2 separate regions of the Homo sapiens genome follow, and region 2 is linked to region 1. The links are contacts of gene promoters, found by promoter capture Hi-C in blood cells and fetal thymus (Javierre and others, 2016). All regions are on one chromosome and are shown on one strand. Each heading gives the region's core, a stretch centred on a gene start or on the middle of the fragment in contact. The rest is flanking DNA. Distances are from core to core; before and after follow the strand shown.

Region 1 (2,906 bases), core at 357-2,856:
TTACTATGTCCTTAGTTATGTTACTATTGTGTCATGCAGGCACAGAAGATAAACCAAATAATAAGAGAAATATGGCCGCGGCCTTTGGGAATCTCATTTTCTAATCAGCAGAATAGGAATATTTTAGCATGATCCCCTCACTACCCCTAAAAACCAAGGGGCCAGTAAGGAGGATAGTGGGACAATGTAATCCTCGCACAGGAAAAGTACTGTACAGCAGCAGTACCACTATAACCAACTTCAATCAGAGTTCTCCACGAAGCAATATAGCTAGTACAAGAAATTGAGAAAAAAGCTGAAAACAATAACTATTTTTGACAAAAAACCCACTTTTAAAAATAATAAAGCTCTATCCAATGCATCACAAAATATTCCCAGAAAGCTTCCTGTACACCAAGTATTGTGTAGGATAAAAAGCACAGTCCTTTTCCCATCCAGAGCCATTAGAGAAGATTAAAAACAAGTTACATTAATACAAAAAAAAATAGTTAACATCAGAAGTGATGCCACACTGTTATTTGGCAAAGACATGGCATAACTAAGAGCTGCGAGTTGAAAAATGAACAACACCATGGGCTAGAGAACCTTGGGAAAGTTCAACAGAATAGGTGTGACTTGACAAAGTCCTTTCTACCATTTACAGGTAGAAGAGAGGCGGAACAAAACTGAAGGCGGTTATGGAAGACAGGACAGCGCCTGTGATGCTTGGGAGCAAGAAGTATGCTCCCCAGAAAACTGTGGAGGGATTTAACCAAGCCAAAGAATCTGCACCTTCATTTGGAGGGTGAGAAACGAGTTAAAGAATGTGCACCCTCACTTGGGTTCTAGCGGGGCGAGGGTGTTACCTGATGCTTGTGAGAATGCAGTTCCCTCAATCAGCGGGCCAAGAACCAAGAATAAAGTTTCATTTGCCGACTAGAAATACCCGTATTATTACATGAAACGCTACAGCAGATTAGCAGACAAATGCCAAACTGGCCATAAAACAACATAAGCAACACCTGCTCTCAGGTTTTTCAAACTGACGCCGTCCCAGCGCCCCTGGTAAAGAGAATGATTAAGCTTCCACTCTGGGGCCGCAGCTCATCTTTCACCAAGAAACCTCGGCGAACCTGCGACTGACGCGTTGCCAGCCTCCGCAAGAACAACTCTGCCCAGCAAGTGGAGCTGGGGATGAGGGAAAACTTCATGATAAGGGTAAAGAACTCGAACCCAGGCTCTGCGGACGTCCCCAAGCTGTCCGGGTCCCTGGACCCCGCAGGAATCAAGGGGAACCGAGAGAGGACGGAGGAGAACGCGAGAGGCCGGATCCACCCCTACAGATGAAGATCCAAAGTGAGTCAAGTCCTCCGCGACCCGCCCCCTGAGGAGCTGGCTACTCTAGGGTATCCTGGCCGGCCCCTCTCCTCCTCTGCACCCCAGCCCTCGGCCGCGGCTCCCTCGAGCGCGCCCAGGTGCCCTTCTCGAACCCCTCACCCATGATGAACCCCCTGTCCTCCCTCGCCGATCTTCAGTGATTCCTTGGCCTTCGGCTGCAGCTCCGAGGCGGTTTCCTCGCAAGCCCAGTCAGCCAGCAACTTCCACGTCGGACTCCAGGCGGGGGCGGGAGCGAGGGTCAGCTGCGACTGCGCGCCGGGAACGGTGGCCTGAGCATCCGCGTCGTCGCTTTCGACTCACGGTCCCCGCTCACTGGATGTAGATACCGTGGAGGCCAGAAGAGACGAATAATTCAAAAACCTGAAGTCTCTCCTGCTTGTGTTTTTCTGGACAGAAAGAGCTTCTGAAATAGAGAAATTGGAATTTTTGTTTTAAATTCTGACACCAAAAAGTGGCGAATCTGACAACTGAAAATGCGAGTCGGGCCTCGATGAGTCGTCCCGGTCGAACGCTGGCGCAGGCTGCGGCGTTGCAGAGGACGCGTGTCCCGGAGCGCCCTGCGGGGCCAGCCCAACTCTCCCTAGGTGCTTTCTCCCAGAAAGAAACAAGACTACGTAATAATAATAGGAATGGTACCGCGCTGCCAATGCGGAGCAGCCTTGCACCTGAGGCCAGTAACCAGAGGTTTTTGTCTTCGCTGTGGCCTGCAGGACGAGGACCTCGCCGGCTTTTTTTCTCGCTGACCGAGCAGCTGAGACCGCCTTTCAGGGGTCGGCAGTGTGGACTGGCTGGTCCCGATCGTGGGGACCAGGGACTTATTCCCTCGAGGGTCGACTGTTGGAAGTAATGTAGGTTTTGATAGTGAAGTGTGTGGAGAGGAAGAAGGAAGCACACCTATAGGATGTGGAGAAGGGATTTCCCCTAGAGAAATTTTTAAAGGTTGAGCATGTATGTTTTGAAACTTCCCAAAGATCCATTGAAAAGTGAACCTTCCGGCCGGGCGCGGTGGCTCACGCCTGTAATCCCAGCACTTTGGGAGGCCGAGGCGGGCGGATCACGAGGTCAGGAGATCGAGACCATCGTGGCTAACACGGTGAAACCCCGTCTCTACTAAAAATACAGAAAATTCACCAGGCGTGGTGGCGGGCGCCTGTAGTCCCAGCTACTCAGGAGGCTGAGGCAGGAGAATCACTTGAACTCAGGAGGCAGAAGTTGCAGTGAGTCGAGATCGTGCCACTGCACTCCAGCCTGGGCGACAGAGCGACACTCCGTCTCAAAAAAAAAAAGAGAAAAGTAAACCTTCCATCCCTAATACCCTGTATCTCGGTGATCCCCAGTAGTCACTACTGTTAATACTCTCTTAGGTTTTCTTCCAAATCTTATTAATACCTTTGCATATTATGTTTTTATTTATGGTAGAGATTTTCATCCATTCAACAGAAGCTTATGGACTGCCTTTTTAGTTTATTTTAAAAGAATTTTTCTAGCTTTAAATAAAAATTGTATATATTTACAGTGTACCATGTGAT
Region 2 (3,023 bases), core at 524-3,023, 650 kb after region 1:
CAATAGAGTGAAGAGAACCTATGGAATGGGAGACTATATTTGGAAACCATATATGTGATGAAGGGAACCTCTGTACACTGTTGGTGGGAATGTAAATTAGTACAGCTATTATAGAAAATAGTACAGAGGTTCCACAAAAAATTAAAAATAGAACTACTATATGATCCAGCAATCCCACTTCTGGGTATATATCCAAAGGATGTAAAATTAGTACATTCAAGAGACATCTGTACTTGAAAGTTCACTGCAACATTATTCACAATAGCCAAGATACGGAATCAAAAGTGTCCATCAATGGATGAATGGATTAAAAAAAGTGGTATATATACACAATGGAATACTATTTAGCCTTAAAAAAGAATGAAATCCTGTCATTTGTGACAACATAAATGAACTGGAAGACATTGTGTTAAATGAAATAAGCCAGTCAAACAGAGACAGATACTGAATGATCTCACTTATATATGGAGGATAAAAAAGTACAACTCATAGAAATATTGAGTAGAATGGTGGTTAGCAGGGGCTTGGGGTTAAGAGGATTGGGGAGATGCGGTTAAAGGATACAAAATTTCAGTTAGGCAGGAGGAATAAGTTCAAGAGATCTCCTACATGTCATGGTGACTGCTGTTAATAACAATATATTGTATTGAAAATTGCTAAGAGAGGCGATTTTAAGTGTGCTCACCACAAAAAAAAGTAAGTACGTGAGGCATTGCTTATGTTAAATAGCTTGGTTTGGCCATTCCACAATGTATTCATATATCAAAACATCATGTTGTACATCATAAAAATACAATTTTTACCTGTCAATTTAAATAAAGAAATAAGATTTTTGAAAAAGGACAAAAGGCAATAGACTACCTTTAAACTTCATGAGGTTTTGATGAACAAACTTTTCTCTAGAGTTCAAAGAAGTACTAGAATACAGATACAGCCAGAACAGCTGCAGAGAAGTTGAGACAGGAACAGGAGGAGGTTAAAGAGTGACTCATGAGGCTTTGATCATAATCTATCAATAAATGAGATGACTATTGTTTTCTTTGATCTAGTTGTCAGTAAACAGCTCTCATTCAAGAACCATTAGGCACTACAAAGGTGAAGGGCTATCCCTGTTTCAGGACAGCTCAAACAAGTTGCTTTCATAGGTGTGTTTACTTGTTGCTTTGTTCTTTATTTTTCAGCTTGATGATAAGGGCTATGGGGATAAGAGTATTTGCTTCTTTCTGCTAGTAATCCTGGGACAGTCCCTTTCCAGATACTTCTCCATCTTGCCCTGGTATAAAAATCGAAGGGTGAAAACCTTGGCTTACTGGTTTTTATTCAGTCAATTTTATATCCTAAATTATTTAGAGAGATAGTAGGAACGAAATAAAACTGACTGGAAGCAAGCACCTAGTTTCTGGCCATTAACATATAAAACTAAATTGAATTAAGCCCCTTACTCTACCAATTACTATATTTTACTTTGTCTTAGAAGGCAGAAGAAATGTTGATAATTAGACAAAACAATAACTGGAATTTCATACAAGTAAAAAATAGTTTTCCCATCTCCATGCAATTTTTATTAATAGTAGTAACACACTTAACAAAAACTCTAATTGCTAAGGCTATACCTTACATAAGACAGAATGTTCAACAGACTTACTTGTGAATATCTAAGTCCCATAATTTACTTTGCTCTTTCCTTAAATGCAATTTCAACCCATGGTTCCCATTGTCTTCCCCATCCTCTTTTGGCTTTTTAAAAGACAGGGATTCCCTGGATCCTGGATCTAGTACCTAATCCTCTTTTTTAAAACAAAAACAAAAACAAAACACTGAGTTTCTCTGTTGTCCAGTCTTGTCTCAAATTCCCGGGCGCAAGTGATCCTCCTGCCTCTGCCTCCCGAGTAGCTGGGATTACAGGTGCGCACTGCTGTGCCAGTTCTGGTACCTAATCCCTAGTTGGGTACTTAATCCTTACATCACAAGTCATTTGCAGAAAATATTTTCATTTCTATAATCATATTTGATGCCAAAGTTATGTTTCTAGGCTATCTCCTCTAGCCATCTTTTAGATCCAGAATGTAAAATAAATTTAAACAATGTGGTTTTGGGGTACGGGAACGAATGACAAATTGCAAAATAAAAACTGTTTTCAACTGTGAAATTTTAGAAGCCGGGCGCGGTGGCTCACGCCTGTAATCCCAGCACTTTGGGAGGCCGAGGCTAGTGGATCGCCCAAGGTCAGGAATTCGAGACCAGCTTGATCAACATGTTGGAACCCCGTTTCTACTAAATATAAAAAATTAGCCAGGCATGGTGGCGCATGCCTGTAATCCCAGCTACTCAGGAGGCTGAGGCAGGAGAATCGCTTGAACCCGGGAGGTGGAGGTTGCAGTGAGCCGAGATCGCGCCACTGCACTGTAGCTTGGGTGACAGAGTGAGACCCTGTCTCACAAAAAAAAAAAAAAAAAAAAAAAAAATTAGATTTCCTATTGTTCCCTTTAATCGCAATAAGCCTGACTGACCTATCTCACAGGGACCTCTAGAACACTAACTCAGTAGAGGAGGGGTGCAGGATTGATTTTAACAGAGTAAAAGAGAACCTAAGATGTGTTAACACAATTGGGTGATGAGAGGTCACGGTACATGAATAAAGACTGTAATTCTTGTTTTACTCCATTTGTCAGTCTCAGCAGTGAAAGGTGATTTCCAGGCGACTCTATAAACCAGTATCACCGGACCTACCTCCTCACAAACTGTAGAAAAGCGGTTGAGGAACTGTACAGTGTGCACCACAAATTGGTTTAGAAAAGCCACCGTTCTTTTCTGTTGAATAGCTGGCACCTGTGTTACGTAAAAACAAACATGGTTCATACAGGAGGAACGTACACAGTGCAAATCTTTTCATATTTGGACATAATCACGAGGCACTTTGCTGTGTGATATGAATTTCTTGAAGGACTGGGAATAGTCATTAACTTGTTTCCTAAGCTGTGGGTGGGGTGTCCGAAGATGACAGAGGTGCACAAAAGTTTGAG

Evidence for each region. Contacts are between HindIII fragments. The CHiCAGO score rates a contact against its expected background, and 5 or more counts as called.
Region 2: a contact is called between a fragment that was not itself captured here and the fragment with the promoter of ARL1 in region 1, in 1 of 17 cell types (fetal thymus). The highest score is 6.4, in fetal thymus.

What each region holds. Positions count from the first base shown.
Region 1 is chr12:101,406,166-101,409,071 of GRCh38, forward strand. It overlaps ARL1 (ARF like GTPase 1), which reads right to left and starts at 1,607. Exons shown (of 6, transcript NM_001177.6): 1 at 1,477-1,607. The coding sequence starts at 1,480. RefSeq lists enhancers at 1,090-1,139, 1,220-1,269. The HindIII fragment of the contact is 1,758 bases long and covers 1,061-2,818 here.
Region 2 is chr12:102,058,518-102,061,540 of GRCh38, forward strand. WASHC3 (WASH complex subunit 3) reads right to left here. Exons shown (of 7, transcript NM_016053.4): 2 at 2,731-2,829. Among named protein-coding and RNA genes, the nearest start is that of WASHC3, 2.0 kb to the right of the region's middle. The HindIII fragment of the contact is 3,599 bases long and covers 1-3,023 here.